Linked DNA regions of Homo sapiens: regions 1, 2 and 4 are each linked to region 3. The links are contacts of gene promoters, found by promoter capture Hi-C in blood cells and fetal thymus (Javierre and others, 2016). All regions are on one chromosome and are shown on one strand. Each heading gives the region's core, a stretch centred on a gene start or on the middle of the fragment in contact. The rest is flanking DNA. Distances are from core to core; before and after follow the strand shown. Region 1 has its middle 83 kb from the start of GHITM. Region 2 has its middle 59 kb from the start of GHITM. Region 3 holds the start of LRIT2 (leucine rich repeat, Ig-like and transmembrane domains 2). Region 4 overlaps CCSER2 (coiled-coil serine rich protein 2).

Evidence for each region. The method cuts DNA at HindIII sites, captures the fragments that hold promoters and counts their contacts. A CHiCAGO score of 5 or more calls a contact.
Region 1: a contact is called between a fragment that was not itself captured here and the fragment with the promoter of LRIT2 in region 3, in 1 of 17 cell types (neutrophils). The highest score is 5.7, in neutrophils.
Region 2: a fragment that was not itself captured here is called in contact with the fragment with the promoter of LRIT2 in region 3 in 1 of 17 cell types (neutrophils); the score reaches 5.1 in neutrophils.
Region 4: a contact is called between a fragment that was not itself captured here and the fragment with the promoter of LRIT2 in region 3, in 1 of 17 cell types (neutrophils). The highest score is 5.7, in neutrophils.

What each region holds. Positions count from the first base shown.
Region 1 is chr10:84,054,816-84,059,043 of GRCh38, forward strand. No RefSeq gene overlaps it. Among named protein-coding and RNA genes, the nearest start is that of GHITM, 83 kb to the right of the region's middle. The HindIII fragment of the contact is 1,800 bases long and covers 1,103-2,902 here.
Region 2 is chr10:84,078,564-84,082,798 of GRCh38, forward strand. It overlaps the pseudogene HMGN2P8. Among named protein-coding and RNA genes, the nearest start is that of GHITM, 59 kb to the right of the region's middle. The HindIII fragment of the contact is 6,787 bases long and covers 1-4,235 here.
Region 3 is chr10:84,223,382-84,227,492 of GRCh38, forward strand. LRIT2 (leucine rich repeat, Ig-like and transmembrane domains 2) reads right to left here and starts at 2,163. Exons shown (of 3, transcript NM_001017924.5): 1 at 2,030-2,163; 2 at 952-1,733. The coding sequence starts at 2,139. The HindIII fragment of the contact is 7,130 bases long and covers 1-4,030 here.
Region 4 is chr10:84,475,868-84,480,237 of GRCh38, forward strand. CCSER2 (coiled-coil serine rich protein 2) reads left to right here. Exons shown (of 10, transcript NM_001284240.2): 9 at 1,708-1,797. Among named protein-coding and RNA genes, the nearest start is that of CCSER2, 150 kb to the left of the region's middle. The HindIII fragment of the contact is 666 bases long and covers 1,965-2,630 here.

The DNA.
Region 1 (4,228 bases), core at 753-3,252, 170 kb before region 3:
GAGAGGAAGAGACAGCTGGCCAGCTGCCGAGTGTTCCTGTCATTACACAAAAGGTGCCAGGTAGGTGAGTATAGCCATTTTGCTCCTGCCCCAGCCAAGTTCCTGGTTTGTGCTGCCACCAGAGTGACCCCAGTCCACACCACATGGAGCAGCAGTGAGCTGTCCCTACAGAACCCTGCCAGGTTGTAGAATCCTGTGCATTAAGGCTCTAAGTTTTGGAGTGGTTTGTTACACATCAATAGATAACTGATACAAAATGCCCACCGGAACTAATGAAGGTCTCCAGCTGAAGGATCAATGTGCACACTGACCTCTGTTCTATGACATACATTATTTTGATACCTTGTATCTTAAGCCACTTATCAATGAGAATGTATATATATATATACATATCCTAAAAATCTCCCTACAAACCAGGTGTAATTATTTCTATTTTATAAGTGAAGAAACTGATGGTTAAAGACCAGCCGAAAGCCACAATCTAGAAATAGACTCAGCTACTGAATAATCCAGATCTATGCAATTCCACAGCTTATGGTTCCTTCTGGTGCATCCTACTGTCCTTAATTATGATGATTCTTTTGGGACTCTGCCACCTAATAACCTTATACATTTCTAATGCATGCATAAAGTGAGTCATACTGGACAAAAGAAATTGTCAAGTAAAAATCATGTTTCACACAATCGCTAGGAACCCTCTTTGTGTCCTCCAGCTTTGTTGCTACAGAGCATACAGTAGTGCCCTGATACTGCTTCCATCAAGAATGTCTGTAAACCTGATGTTTTATCAGTGATTATAATGTGTGTTTGGGTTTTTCTGGTTTGTTTCATTTTAGTGGAGGACACCCTGGGTTTTAAGTTGAATGAAGTTCACCAAAACCGATTACGTCTTTCCCCCATCATTTCTCAGTGAAAATAAAAGAGAGCGGTCTTGCAGCAAACTTTTCCAGGAAGAAAAAAAAATTAGAATGAGAGTGGGAATGAGAATTAAATCATAGAAGATGAACCACTTTGCTTTATTCGAGATGAAAACAAAATGCTCCTTCAATAAACACTTGAAGGAAAAAACCCTCCTTATTTTGACCTTCAGCATCCCAGGGGAAGCTTCTCATGGCAAAAGCCCCAGCCCTTGAGCCTGGAACCTTTGACTAGAAGTGTACCTGACCTGCACAGGGTTAGCAAATGTTCTAGGACAAAGAGCTGTTACTCTCTATTTCCAGAGCAGTTTGCCTGGTGTACACATGTGGATGTTTGAATGGCCTCTCAACTGTGTGACTGGTGAGGGGTTTCCACACCAAGCCTTCTACCAACAGCTTGCTGGTGGAGAGGGGAAGAGAAGGGCAGGGGCTTTGCTGTCAGTCAGACCAACCTTGGCTGGAATCCTGTGTCTACCACTCACTGTGTTATCTTGGGGAAGATACTTAGCATCTCTAAGTTTCTAATCTGTAAAATAAAAACAATCATACCCTTTAATTTTGGCTGTAAAATAGAGGAGCCCAATTCTTTGTCATTATCTCCCACATCAAAAATGGGCAGAAACACACACCTTAGTGTGTCCAATGTGGCTGACTGTATCCACTACAGAACAAAGGGAAGGGATGTGTGACAGAGACCAGTATCTATCTCATTTCTCTGTCTTCCTAGTAAAACAAAGAAAAAAAAAGCCCCAATTTTTTGATAAGCACATAGTTATCTAAAATAAAGACTAAATTTTCTAGCCACCATTGCTGCTGGCACATAGCAAAGCTCTGGACAACAAAATATAAGTGCAAGTATCATGTGAAATCTTTTGAAAGATTTTTAAAAGGAGAAGGCCTGCCCTTGTTAGTCTTTTCCTGATTTATGCTGGCTGGAATATGGATGTGAAGGCTGGAGCCTAAGCAGCCATCTTGAGCTAAGGGCAGCATCTGCAGGGTGGCAGAGCAACATGGTTAGGAGCAGCCTGAGTTCCTGATGCTCGCAAAGGGGCCAAACCTCTTGGTTCCTTCAGTAAAAGAGAAACAAACTTTTTAAAAAAGTATTTTTAAACCACAATTAGCTTCAGTTTTTCTGTTACCCGCAACTGAACTTAACCATTACCAGTACTGGAAGTTAACATGCTTTGTGGTCAATTTGCTCACAATATTTGTTTTCCAAGATGGTTTCTTCCTGATTTCTTAAAACTTGAATCTATTTGACATGCTGTCTGAAGCGTTGTTCATCTTCCTCAAGCAAGGTCACTGTTGGATTCTCATCCAGTGTGCTTGCTAAAGTCTGTGGTACTCACTGCTCCGAAAACACTCCAGGAATCCCAGTGGCTTCTGGACTGAAAAGTTAAAGGGAAAGACATAGCTTTGAGAAATTTGCCACATCAGACCACATTATGTTCATTAATAGTGAAAATACTGACATGTTTTAATGTTTACTATGTGCTGAGTACTTGGAGTATCTCATTTAATCATTCCAACAAACTTGTGACTTACTACTCTTGTCATTTCTGTACTGTGAATGGGAAAACCAAGGCTCTTAGCCACTTCAGCAACTGCCTTCTCAAAACAGCGTACTGCTGGAATCAGCCATCAGCCAGGCCCTGAGAATACTATGGCTCTATTTCCCTGAATTCTCTGGTATCTAAATCTAAATCTGAAGACAGTGCAGGAAAATTTCCCTCTTCTTTGTGCTGCTGTGTGAATGGGGACATGCCCTTTTGCAGCCCTGATTCCTGAGCCCCTGGTTCTGAACCTGAGACAAAATAGGCCCTCACTAAAAACAAGGTCTTTTTTTCTAGTAGTCTCTTATGAGTAACTATCTCCTATCTTACACATAATCTCCCAAGCTGGAGGCACGATTTGGATTAACGTCTGCTCACACTTGATTTATGATATTTCATTTCAAACCCCATTAATCTATCTAGCATTGATAAAGCTTCTGAACTTTGTGTTGCTTCCTGAGATTACTTTGAATCATGCATTCATACCCTTGATCATTTTTTAAAAACCTGACTGCAGGCTCAGGGATAAATTCCATGCTGTTCTGTAAATTTATCACCAACTTAATTTGGAATTTGTACTTGTCTCCACTTGAGTTACCTGGACCTTCAGTCAGATCCGAAAGTCCAAATCCCAACTCAGATTCTATTCTTTGAATCCCATAAAAAAATTTCTGATGCATAAAAATATCAGATAAAATAAATATTTGGCCTTTTCCATTACAGTCTAAGAAGATTTAATGCCAGATAAAATTGACAAATGTAGACTTTCATCCCAAAGTAAAATAAAATACCCTGAAATACAGACCCTCTCTCAAAACAGTACTGGTAAATAAAACACCTGGAGTGAGAGTGTTCCTCTTATACTGAAACCAGAGTACAAATTGAATATGTTGATGGTGCCTTCAAGATTCCTGAACATTCACAGCTGAGGAGTTAACATTTTGATGGATGAGCTGAACTCCCTTGGGGAAGGCTCGGTGTTGGAGAAGGCTCTGTGTTGGTTGGGTTTGCCATCCCTTGGTAGCAGCAGTCACAGGTGTATTCCACTGCAGTGAAATATGCCCAGCAAGCTCGGGACAGTGCAGCTGCAATGGTTTGCAATTACCCTTGAAAAATAAGCAATCTTGAGCCTTGTGTTGGTTGTCCAGAAGTATTAAAAACTGTGTTCTGCCTTACTCTTTTAAAGCTGCCACTCTCACAGTCATTTTGAAAGGGAATGTGTGGGCTGCTCCGAATGTCTCTCTGTTTACCAGCCCAAGATTAGCAAAGGGATCTCCAGAGTCCACAAAGTAATACTGTGGGTAACCCAGAGCCATTAATGCTCACATTCTTTCCTTGAGACCCTTGGGAAATGCATTCATTAATTCACCAGAAATGAATTGAGCCTTCCCTATGTGCCAGGCACTGTTCTAGCTGCAGTCTATAAACCAGACCAAACCCTTGCATTCCTAAAGCTTACATTCTAGGGCAGGAACACAGACAATAAGGAACATAGATCAATATATACTGTGTGTGATAAGTACCTACTGCAGATGCTGTGGGTGCTGCAACCATATCCCTAGGGCACCCACCATCCAGGACAAACTGAGTGCTTTCTCTGGCTGTGGCAGGCTAGGTCTCAGTAACTCAAGCCTCCATAACAACTGTTTCAGTACTGAGTGGTTAAGTTGAATATTAAAAGCCAGTGCCCTTATACAAAGGCTGGGATGTAACAAAAGCCCACCAAGAGTTTTGCCTAGGCCTTTCCTGGGACTTAAT
Region 2 (4,235 bases), core at 181-2,680, 150 kb before region 3:
TGGGTTCTAAATGCTTCTGCAGCCTAAACAAAGAGCTAGTAGAAGGAATGATCCAAATGAGAGAGGCACAAAACTGTCTTTGAAAGTGAATAGGACTTTGTCCAGCCCATCATAGCCTATGGGAGCTCATGTGGTGAGATTAGCAGAAATGACTCATTTTTCATTGGGTCATGCCCCTGAAGTGCCCTTTAAGTGTTTTTTGGAGTCCCCAGGTATATCTCAGGTGTATTTATGAACATGTCAGCTTCATCTGAGTGCTGCTATTGTTTCTCTATTCCCTGCCAGATGTTGCCAGGATGTGTCCTTCTCCTGCTACAACTGAAACCTGGAACCCCCAAGATATCAACACTGCACAGCAGTCTCCCTTCCTTCATCTTATGCTCTGTTGCAGAAGTGTCAAAGCCATATGATTGATGCCCTCATGTCTTAGAGAAACAGCCTTGCCAGGTTTTATCTACAGCACACCCCTTCTCCAAGGGACACCCAATTATTGTATGAAATCCAAGGAGTAAAGAATTGGACCCAGTCAAGGCAAAGTGGCTCATGCCTGTGTCCCAACACTTTGGGAGGCCAAGGCAGGAGGATTGCTTGAGGCCAAGGGTTCAAGATTAGCTTAGGCAACATAGTGAGACCCTGTTTCTATAGAAAAATTGGCCACGTGTGGTGGTGCACACCCGTAGTCCCAACTACTCAGGAGGCTGAGGCAGGAGGCTTAGTTGAGCCCAGGAACTTGAGGCTGCAGTGAGCTATGATCACACCACTGCACTCCAGCCTAGGTGACAGAGTGAGACTCTGCTCTGAAATAATAATAATGAAATTTTTAGAAATAAAATAATTTTTAGAAAGACTCAGACACAATGGAGTGACAAACTCTTCAAAGCCCTCCCAATCACATCCTCTTGGCTATGGCTGGTTGAAGACTTCTTTGTTGTCATCTTTTATAAGGAAACTTCCTTTGGCTTTCTTTTTCAGGAGGCATCTTAGACCCTTCAGCTTTGCCCCAGTGGTCCTAAACTCCAGTCCAGAACCCCTTTTATGACAATAAATGTGGTTGTTTTATTTTCTTTACTCAATTTTCAATGCTTGTTCTTCTTAATGAGCATTTTCACTACCTAATTGCTTAATTAGATTACAATAAACTTACAGGATCATGTCAAAAATGAAGATTCTGCTTAAGTAGATCTGGGATGGGCCCACGATTCTGCCTTCTTTACAAGCCCGCAGGAGATACAGATGCTTCTCGTCTTGAACCGACCCTTGGGAAGCAAAGTTTAAGGGATTTTCAGACACATATGACATTGTTCCAGTTTGACTAGGAAAATGAATGCATCCCTACATAGGAAGCAGTAGCAGGGAGCATATGTCTGAGAATGAATACCTATTCTTGAAAATGCCCAGAATGTGGTGCATGAACACACTCACATAAGCGTGCTCTACAGCAGAGGTTTTCACACCTGAGTGTGCATCAGAATCACCTGGAAGGCTTAGTAAACACAGACTGTGGGCCCCACCCCCAGAGCTTCCACTTTAGTAGGCCTGGGTTGGAGCCCAAGAATCTACATTTCTAACAAGTTCCCAGGTGATGCAAATACTGCTGGCCCACGGACCATTTTGAGAGCTGCTGCTCTAGCAACACTGAAACCAGTAAAACCTCCACTATAAGAAATGACAGTTTCCAGTCATCAGCGTGAGAACAAATTACCCTCTGGATTCCTGCGCCGCTACACAAAAATGTTAAATCATCTAGGCTGGACTTATCTGCCTTCTGACATATGTCCCCCCACCTTTTGCAAACGTTCACAAAGACCTTTCAATATTAATCTCCATATGTTTACTTTGACTTTTAACCTGGGTCTTTGTATTTGAAGTGGAATACCTGTAGACAACATACAGTTGAGTCTTATTTTTTCAATTCACTCTCCAGTCTGAAAATCGGTCTTCCTATCAGTGTATTGAAACCACCTATATTTAAGGTGATTATTAATAGAGTTAGATTAGTATCTACCACGTTTGCCACTGCTATCTATTGGTTGCATTTGTTCTTTCTTTTTAAAAAAAAAAAAAAGGTGATGGTGTCTCACTGTGTTACCCAGGTTAGTCTCAAACTCCTGGGCTCTAATGATTCTCCCACCTCAGTCACCTAAGTAGCTGGGACTACAACTGCATGCCACCGCACCCATCTGTTCTTTCTTTTTTTTTTTTTTGCCCTCCTTTTCCTTCCTTCCTTCTCTGGTTTTGAGTATTTGATATGATTGAATTTTATCTTCCTAGTGCACCCATTATACTTCTTTTAAAATTTTCTACCTCTAAAGTATATCATATATATGTTCTTAACTAATCTAAATCTATTCTCAAATAACATCATAACTCTTCACATGTAGGGCAGGCACCTGATAACAAGCACCTGGTCCCAATTTCTCTCTAGCCCCTTGTGACATTGCATTCATTCATTTTAATTATCTACATGCTAATCATCACCCAATACACTGTTACTATTATTACTTCGAACAGTTCTCTTTTAGATCAATTAAGAATAAGAAAATAAATTATTTTATTTTACCTTTGTTTATTCCTTTACCAACACTCTTCCATTCTTTATACAGATCCAAGTTTCTCACCTGTATCATTTTCCTTCTGCCTGAAAACTTCTTGTAACATTTCTTGCAAGGAGTATCTGGTGGTAAAATTTCTTTTCAGTTTTTATTGGCCTGAGAAATTATTTCTTCTTCATTTTAGAAGAATAATTTTGCTGAATATAAAATTCTAGGGGCAGTGTGAGAAGAGGCGAGAACAACCACTGATCTGACCAAAGCCTGCTGCATCCTGCCCCAGCGCCTACGTCCCACCGCTGTCGCCGCCACCGTGCCCAAGAGAAAGGCTGAAGGTGATGCTAAAGGAGATAAAGCCAAGGTGAAGGACAAACCACAGAGAAGATCCATGAGGCTGTCTGCCAAACCTGCTCCTCCAAAGCCAGAGCCCAAGCCTAAAAATGCCCCTGCAAAGAAGGGAGAGAAGGTACCCAAAGGGAAAAAGGGAGCCAGGCGCGGTGGCTTACGCCTGTAACCCCGGCATGTTGGGAGGCCGAGGCCGGCGGATCACTTGAGGTCAGGAGATCGAGACCAGCCTGGCCAACATGATGAAACTCCACCTCTACTGAAAAATACACAAATTAGTTGGGCATGGTGGTGCATGCCTGTAATCCCAGCAACTCGGGAGGCTGAGGCAGGAGAATCACTTGAACCTGGAAGGCAGAGGTTGCAGTTAGCCGAGATGGCGCCACTGCACTCCAGCTTGGGCAACAGAGCGAGACTCTGTCTCAAAAAAAAAAGAAAAGAAAAGCTGATGCTGGCAAGGAGGGGAATAACCCAGCAGAAAATGGGGATGCCAAAAGAGACGAGGCACAGAAAGCTGAAGGTACTGGAGATGCCAAGTGAAATGTGTGCGTTTTTTATAACTGTGTACTTCTGGTGACTGTACAATTTGAAATACTATTTTTATCAAGTTTTATAAAAATGCAGAATTTTGTTTTACTTTTTTTTTAAGCTATGTTGTTAGCACACAGAACACTTCATTACTATTTTTGGGGGAAGAGGCATATGTCACTCATAGAATGTCTCCGAAGCTGGATTGATGTGAGGAAAACACCCTTCCCTTCTAGTTTTGAGAGACTTCCTCTTGGCTCCCAGGAGGAAGGATTCCCTGACTTTGACACCCATGGCCATCTTCGCACAAAAGCCTTGTGGGAGGGAAAAACAAATTCATTTTTATGTCCTCTTCTCCCTTTCCACCTTTCAGCATAGACTTAACTCCCTGAAGCCCAGACATCTGTTGGGACCTGACCCCCAACAATTGGTTACCAGTGTGTCAGGCAATCTGGACTTTCCAGTGATACCAGTGAGATGGCACCCCTCAAAAGAGCAATGGTTCCCTTTCTAGATTGTGGATCTTCAGATCACTTCTGATATTTTCATTTCACTTCCTGAAAGTCCGGGTTGGCTCATGAAAAGTTGTTAAACAACATGCTATATATGACAGGTCAACCCTTACTCTAAACTTTCCCCATTCAGAGCATCAGATGAAGACTTCATTGGGTTTAACAGTGGTTTTTTGATTTCAGTAGTCCATTGAATAAGGGAGTTTGAACATTGTTTTATACTGTTAACAACTGTCTGCCCATGTCCTGCCTGAAATACCATGATTGTTTGTGGAAAGTATCTTTAATAAAGCTGGATACA
Region 3 (4,111 bases), core at 913-3,412:
GGTTTTCAAAGAGGCTACAACAATAAATCCTATAATTTTCTTTCATTGATATTGAATGCCAAACCAATAAGGTATTATCAAAACAATACAGAATGTGAAAATTCAGTTAATTGGGTATTTTTAAACCATCCAGAGTTTTGTCATAATGTATAACAAATACCTGGGCAAATGACTATATTTCCCAAGTTTTACCCAGCTATTCCTAGTTGTCTTCTAGACAGAGAACAGAAGACAGGACACGAGGAATGTACGAAGATTTTTCTTTTCAGCTTTGGGATACCCCCAGGGAGGCCATCCCCGGCTTTGTGATATGCCCAACCCTACAGAGTAGCATTAAAGGTAATCCCAGCTGAGGTATGAAAACAGAGCAGAGGGTTCCAGGAAGGAAGAGGCAGGTTTGAATTCCAGCCCCAGGGCCCACAGAGGTCACTTCCTTTCCCTGGGTCCCAGTATTACAAATTCAAGCCAATAAGGTCTGAACAATTTTATGTCAGTGTTATTTCAAACAAGCACCCCAGGTGATTCTGCTCAGGCAAGTTAAGGAAATAACTAATAGATCATCTCTAAAATCAATCCTAGTAAAAAATTCTAGAATTCTAAAATACATAGTCCAGTGTTTTGCATCTAGAAGATTCCCAAAGACTATATCTGCTCATATAAAATTTTATAATATTTGCATAAGATATTAAATTAGCCCTGAAATATGTGTTTATATATGTGTATATGTTCTGTATGCAAAGAGATCTGTATGCAAACATTTAAAATAATGCCAATAGTGGAACACTACCTTGAAATCTTTTCTGTTCTAGTGAGCATAATTCAGGGCTATCCCAATCTTACTTGCACCCACCCTTCGTGACTGACCCAGCTTTGAATCTCTCTAATGAGGATGGGTTTGCTACAGACCTCTCCATTCCCTCCAGATACACTGAGAGGGTGCATGTGGCTTACCATCAAATTCTCTCCACATACTCAGGGGATAAGTCCATGCAATGGATGGTGAGGGGCTGGCCTGTGCCAAGCATCGCAGGGTCACATTCTGTCCTGCCCGGATGGTGATATTGGCACTGGGGGTTGAGATCTGTGGCTTCATGCAAGCACTAAGCTCAGTTTCATGAAAAAGCTGCCCTGCCTTGGACAGAGGGCCCTGACATATCAGGTAGGAATTCACCAGGATGACTGGGAGGGTAATGGACTTGACAAACTGGACAAGCCCCCTTAGGCGACAGTCACATACCCAGGGGTTGTCATGCAGGGCCACCACCAGGCTGGAGAGAATCTCAGCCCCACAGTCAGGCTGCCGGCATTTCTGGTAGGCTGGCCAGTTCAGGAAGACACTCTTGGATACAACTGTAAGCCTATTGGAGGATAGGTCAAGGTAGGTCAGGCTGACCAAGAATTGAAGAGCCAGCTCAGGGAGTGCATCAATCTTGTTGCGTTTGAGATCCAAGACCCTCAGGAGAGGGGTGGCACGGAACGCTGTCCATGGTACTGAGCAGAGCTTGTTCCCCTCCAGTCTCAGCTCCCTCAGTTCTGGCAGGTGTTCCAGGGCTCCTAGGTGGATCACACTGATATTGTTAAAATTGAGCCAGAGGTATTCCAAGGTGCTCATGTTGATGAAAGACCCTTGGGGCATCTCAAATAAGGGTGAATTTTCAATTCTCACTTGCTTGAACTCTTCAGAAAGGTTCCCAGGGATCTTTCCCAAGGAGACAGATGTGCACTGCAGAGTCCTGTACAAGAAACCAGAACAGCTTTAAGATAAACAACAGGGGACTGAAAAGTGGGGTCAGGCTGATCCTGGCATTAGACATGTGAATCAGAATAAAAATATTATTATTCATTGAAATAAAAGAGTTAGACTCATTTTGGTAAAAATGCACAGTTCAGCAAAGTTCAGTCCCAACTAGAATGAGTCTCATAGAGTTTTGCTGATTTCCTGCCAATTCTAAGCCTGCTTCCACTCCACATCATCCCCAAAGAAAACCCATTCCCCATAACCCTCTAACATCTGGCCAGCAGAGCGCACCTGCCAAAACTCTCCTCTGAGCAAGTGCATCCTGGCAGACAGAAAGGCTGAGCTGCGTGTGTATCCAGAAAGACCAGAACTAACAGGAAGTAATGAAAAACTGAAGCCATATTTCTCTGTAAGAAAATACGTTGTGAGTTTTGAATAAGTATCGCCCCAGCTTCCGAGTGGCAAATCCTATTATTGGTAATCCATGATGATGTAAGTCACACAGCAGCAGGAAAGCCCATGGGAGCTCTGAGGTCTGTTACAGCCCAGACCACAAGTTCAGTCAGAACACACGAAGGGGGATCAATGTCTCTTAACTAGGGTCAGGAAATTCAACATTTGTGTAATTCTTGAGTCTGAAAAGCAAACTCCAAGTCAGATGTCCAATTCCATACAGATTCTACATTTCTTAGAGTCTTAAACAGAAGTCTGAGAAACAAGCAGGCAGTGCTATTCTGAGCACCACTGTTCAGGGGATGTGGCCAGAATCCATCTAATGCTTCATCATTTGCAGTTGATTCCTGAAACCTAGAATTTCCAATCATTTTCTCAAAGTGAAAATAGGTGATGAGTAACAAAGTAATTCTGTGTTCATTCCTATCATTTGTTCTCTTCCCAACACCACGGGTGGTGTAGTCATGCTCCTACTGCATCAAGACAGCTGCTTCTGCAGCTTGGGTCACCAGTTTCAAATACAAGATGGTATTTTCTGATTAAACCAAAAGATTGTTTTCTTGGACTTCACAACCTTTCCTTAATACTGTGCATTTCACTTCATCAAAATGGGCAACCTACATTTTAAAAAGAGATGTATACAATTTTATATGCTTGCTCTTTCACTCTTCATTTATTCCACAAATATTTACTGGTCATTTGCTTTAAGCTATACTCTTGCCCAATGAAAGGAACAGGGTCAAGGGCAAACCTATTATAGACCCTGTCCCAAGGAGTCTTCTCTCTTGTTTGTGCTTCTGAATCTTGAGATCTTTGGAATGTAATTTAATCTCTGTGAGTCTTTTCTGTATCATGAGAATATTAACAAATACCTCATAGTGTTTCCAGGAATTTATTTCTCATTATTTTTTAATTTTTGTATTTTTTCAGAGACAGGGTCTCACTCTGTTGCCCAGGCTGGTCTCAAACTTCTCAGCCTCCCAAGTAACTGGGATTACAGGTGCAAGCCATTGCATCCAGCCATATTTTTAGAAAAGTTTGAGATTATGTTAAATACAACACCTAGCACACAGTTGGTGCCCATTAATCCTCCTCCCACTGACAAACTCTTTAAGATCCGAAAAGTCTACATCTCTATTAACTAGGGCACTTCCAGTTGAATATTGAAATTCCATGAGTTCCTTTAAGACTCATGATATACATTGTACCCTACAAAAGGCCTCAGGAAAGAAAATCCGCTTAGCTAACCAGTGAGGGGGGAAATGGGTCACCAGCTAAGCTGATTACACTCCAGGCTTTCCATCCAAGCCAGAAATATTTGCAGGAGTTTCCAAACAGTCTAACTCTAAAACCTGGGGGGACCACTGTGTTTGTCTAAAGGTAAAAATCCAAAACAAAGAGAGAGCTATCGGCACAAAGTTTGTCATACATATGGCTATGTGCTTCCTAGATCCCCCTTCAAGGTATAAGTGGATGCTCAGCTGCAAGGAGTGCTTGCATGAGGTCACGTCCTTCCCAAAGCAGCCACATCCCACATTCAGTGACTGAGGGTGGTGAGGGCCTGGCCAGTTTGCCCTGATGGGGGAAAACTCTGATGAGCAATTATCACTCCAGAGTCCCCTACCAGCTTTGCTAAGGCTTTGTCAGGCTTGTTTCATGGAAATATGTGATTTAATTCATGACTATTCCAAACCACTAGTGGATTCCTTTCTCTCCCCTTACCCCAAAGGATAAAGATCTTAAGAGTCCTCCATTCCCCCACAATTTCCTCTCTGTCCATCTCATGCCAGCCTTTTCAAATGAATCCAGCTCCATCCAACTTTCAAGAAGTTTGCGGGAAGCTTGTGAAGCACACCCACTGGCATGCTATCTCTAGAATCATCTAGGCCACTTCTCTACTGCCCCCCACTCCTTTCCTGA
Region 4 (4,370 bases), core at 1,048-3,547, 250 kb after region 3:
TGTCACCCAGGATGGAGTGCGGTGGTGCAATCTCAGCACACTGTGGCCTCAACCTCCCAAGCTCAGGTGATCCTCTCACTCAACCTCCCGGGTAGCTGGGACTACAGGCACATGCTACCATGCCTGGCTGTTTTTGTTGTGTGTTTTTTGTAGATACAGGGTTTTGCCTTGTTGCCCAGGCTGGTCTGGAACCCCTGGGCCCAAGCAATCCGCCAGCCACAGCCTCCCAAAGTACTGGGAGTACAGGTGTGAGCTACTGCACCCAGCCTATATTGAATTTTGTTTCAGTGACTGTCTCATTTGTTAGGAATGGGAAATATGTCTCTATGATAGACATTTTTGTTTTTAGATTTTATTTTGTATAAGGAAATTGTAATGATCTGATTGCAGTTAAGAAAAATTTTGAATATGGGTAAATATTATTAAAGTAGAAATGTATCATTTTAACCTGATGGAATAATCAAGAATTTTTTAGTTTCCTATGAGAAAGTATATCTACCTCCAGTGAGGTTGTTTAACAAATAATGTGGTTATTTTCTAGCTTGTCACTAAGGGTGAATTCTCTCTCTTTTTTTTTTTTTTTTTTTTTTTTTTTGAAATGGTGTCTCCCTCTGTCACCCAGGCTGGAGTGCAGTGGTGCAATCTGTGCTCACTGCAAGCTCTGCTTCCGGGTTCATGCCATTCTCCTGCCTCAGCCTCCGGAGTAGCTGGGACTACAGGTGCCCGCCACCACATCCGGCAAATTTTTTGTATTTTTAGTAGAGATGAGGTTTCACTGTGTTAGCCAGGATGGTCTGCTTCTCCTGACCTCGTGATCCGCCCGCCTCGGCCTCCCAAAGTGCTGGGATTACAGGCGTGAGCCACCGTGCCTGGCCGGGAGAATTCTTTTTATCAGTATTTTCATGATCTTTTTTGAAAGTGATGATTATTTGGGAAAGTTACTTTGTGTTATATAAATGAGTGTGCTTTGAGTGGAATCGTGTGGAGAAATCATTTGTGAACAGAAATGGTCAGATGGATCTTGTCAAAGGGCTGACACTCTTCAAAATATTTCAGTCCAGTAAAGTCAATACATCATGAAAGAGGCTTCATCACACTGCACATGAGAACAGACATCCTGACAAGTGGACTGGTGGTATTCAATGTCCAGCAGAGTCCCATTAAAATATGGATTTAAGAAACTGAGCTTTAGTGACTGTAGTACCATGACAGTTTAGGGAAATACTGTAAATTCTGCAGTTGTATTCTTTATATACTGAATATCCCTATATATTCTACATCCATATACTTAACTCTTTATATTGATATACATAAAATCATATATTGTATGTTTTATGGACAATATAAGAGATTGCCAAGGGTAATTTAGATTATTCAAAATTCTAACCTTACAGGCTGACTCTCAAACCCACTCCCTGAATAAGATGAGAGACCACTGAATAGACCTTATTGTTGGCTGTGATAACATTTTTTCTTCAAAAAAGTAGCCAGAACTATTTTGCCATGTGTGACTTTTTTGTTGATTTGGTTACATACCCCCTAAAAGAGCCCTGATTACCTCCTGTCATGGCTGTTAATTTTTTTTATAGGTAATTTAGTTTTGCTTGTCTCTTAGGTGTTTTATGTGTTTTCCTAAAGTTTCTCTTGTGTGTCTTGGTGTGTATATGCAGAATTAAACCAATGTAAAAATTTTGTGTTTTTGTTTAGGCAACTCAGCATATCTGCCACCAAAAATGTAAAGAGGAAAAATGCACTTATGCTGATAAATATACCCAAACACCCTGGAGACGAATTCCTGTAAGTAACATTTGCTCTTAGCCTCCTCTCCAGTCATTTGCTATTTTGATGTTTTATTTCACTCTTTTTACAGCAATCTCTAATGATTTTGAATCTGTCATGGCTGTTAATTTTTTTGTAGGTAATTTATTTTTGCTTGTCTCTTAGGTGTTTATGTGTTTTCCTAAAGCTTCTCTTGTGTGTCTTATGTAAGTGAATGTGCATTTTAATAGCTTTTTCATTCTACATACTATAGTTCATTTTATTTGCGTGTCTACTCTCCTCTTATTGCATGATTTATGAGAGTAGTTCCACATGCCTTAAAGGAAATAGCAGTCCTGTATGCAGTCATCCCACTTTAGCAGCATATGACACTTTGAAAATATATGATTTAGCATATTCCTTTTTTGTTAAAACTTTTCAAATATGTTTATTATAATTACTCAAATGTTGAGGGTGTTAGGAAATATAAATGCACGAAGATACAGACAATAAAAGTTATGTTTTAGGCAGAACTAGGGAATGGTTTATTTTAAATAGGAAGTAACTATGTATTCCATGCTTATTTGTTTTTCAAAAATGTTATATCTCAAAACATGTTTAGTGCTAAAAATACTCTATCATTTAATCTGAGTTCTCAGAACTTAGTGCAGGATGTGTGTGAGCCAGAGAATTATCATATGGACATTAGTCATTCTGCTGTTGTTTGGGGCCAGGTAGTAGACATTTCTTGTTAAGAGATTGCCTAATAAGTCAGCCTTGACTCTTTTGCCTTATATTTAGGAGTGGAATCCTAGTAACACAAAGGAACAGAGAAATATAATGGCTAATATAATCAGCAATTCAGTTTATAAAGCTTAGCCATAAGCCTTTAAAGTTTATAAAAGAGTTTTGTTTCTTTTCATCTAACAAGTATTTTTTTTGTGCTCTGTATAAGATACAATGGTAGGAATTAATTTATTCAACAAAAGTTTGATGATCCCCTTTCATCCCAGATATTTGGCTTTCAAACTAGAAGTGGGGAATTAGGGAAGGAAATACAGACAAATAAGGATTCCTCTGTTTATAAGTACTTCTTAAGAAATTGGGAATGCATTGATGTAGTTAAAGTGCTGTGTAAGTCTATAAGGTTCAAAGGATGTGGGAAAGTCTAGTTGAAAGAATCAAGGAGCTTGGTGAAGAAAATGAAGGTTGTGTTTGAATCATAGAAAGCAAAAGATACCAACAGAAAAAGATGATGTGATATTATTTAATGTCAAAGGCGGTGGAAGCTCATCTGTTTGCAGACAGTTGTTTAATAGAAGACCATGCCCCTTGCTTCTAGATGGAAGTTTGGGCTTTCCAGGTGTCTCCATTTACCCCATAGGGATGTTATGCCTTATAATTGTACTACTAAGAAGACTGGTGATTCCATTAAGCATGATAAGTTCCATTTTGCCATCCTCATGGAAGTCTTTATACCACCTCTGGCTCCTTCAGCCTCACTGTTCTGGAAACTGGATGTTAGTCTTCCTCCTCATCAGACAAAAGTAACTATAAAAAAAGTAACTATAAAAGTTACTATAGGAATCATCTGGCCAAATACCTTTGTTTTGTAGATAAGGTAGCAAAAGCTGGGGAGATTAACTGGCATAGCAAAGTTCCCATAATTAATAAGTGGCTGAGCTAGTACTATAACTTAGGACTCTTGACTGCTAGTTCTAGGTTCTTTTCCCCAAAAGCACATTGAAGAGCCTTTGAAGGAGAGTGGTTTGCTGCCAACAGCAGCAGAGCAAAAATTTGAATGTATTGAGATTTGTCCAAGGGGATTTTGTGTCACTTAATGGCTGCAAATAAGATCTCTGAAGTAGAGAATCAACAGGAAATAAGAGGAAGAAATATAGTAGTAGAAAAGGGGAAAGGAGGAAAAGCAGATATTCACTTGCTTATTCAGCAGATATTTATGTGCCTACTTCATGCCAGGCACTGTATTAATTTGGATGTGTAAATATAAAGAAGAATATAAAAATACATGTGTAAATATAAAGTTCCATCCCTCAAGATGCTTGTAGAAACCTCCAGTGTGCTTAAATGATAGTAAGCTCACTCTTTTTCTGCATGTGAAGAAGCTAAGACTAAGAAGTGACTTATGCAAGTGTTTACACAACTTGTATACAGCAGTCTTATTTTAGTTGCTTTTCTTTTGAATGGTTGCAGGAGGGTGAGGGGGCTAGAAGGAATAGAGAAGAGAAAAGGATCATAGCTCTGGGAAGGGAGGACAGAGGCTTAATCTTAGTGAGAGATCACAATAAGGACTTAACTTCCCTGAGAGGAAAAAAAACAGGTGCCCAGGTTTGCACTGCATGGTAGAAGACTTAGCAGTATACTGTGATAATCCATAGAAACATACTTGTATTTTAAAAGTTATTTAATTTATTTTGAGACAGGGTCTTGGTCTGTCACCCAGGCTAGAGTGCAATGGTGCAATTATGGTCCACTATAGCCTTGACCTCCTGGGCTCAAGTGATCCTCCTGCCTCAGCCTCCCAAGTATCTGGGACCACAGGTGTGCACCACCATGCCTGGCTAATTTTTTTATTTTTTGTAGAGACAGGG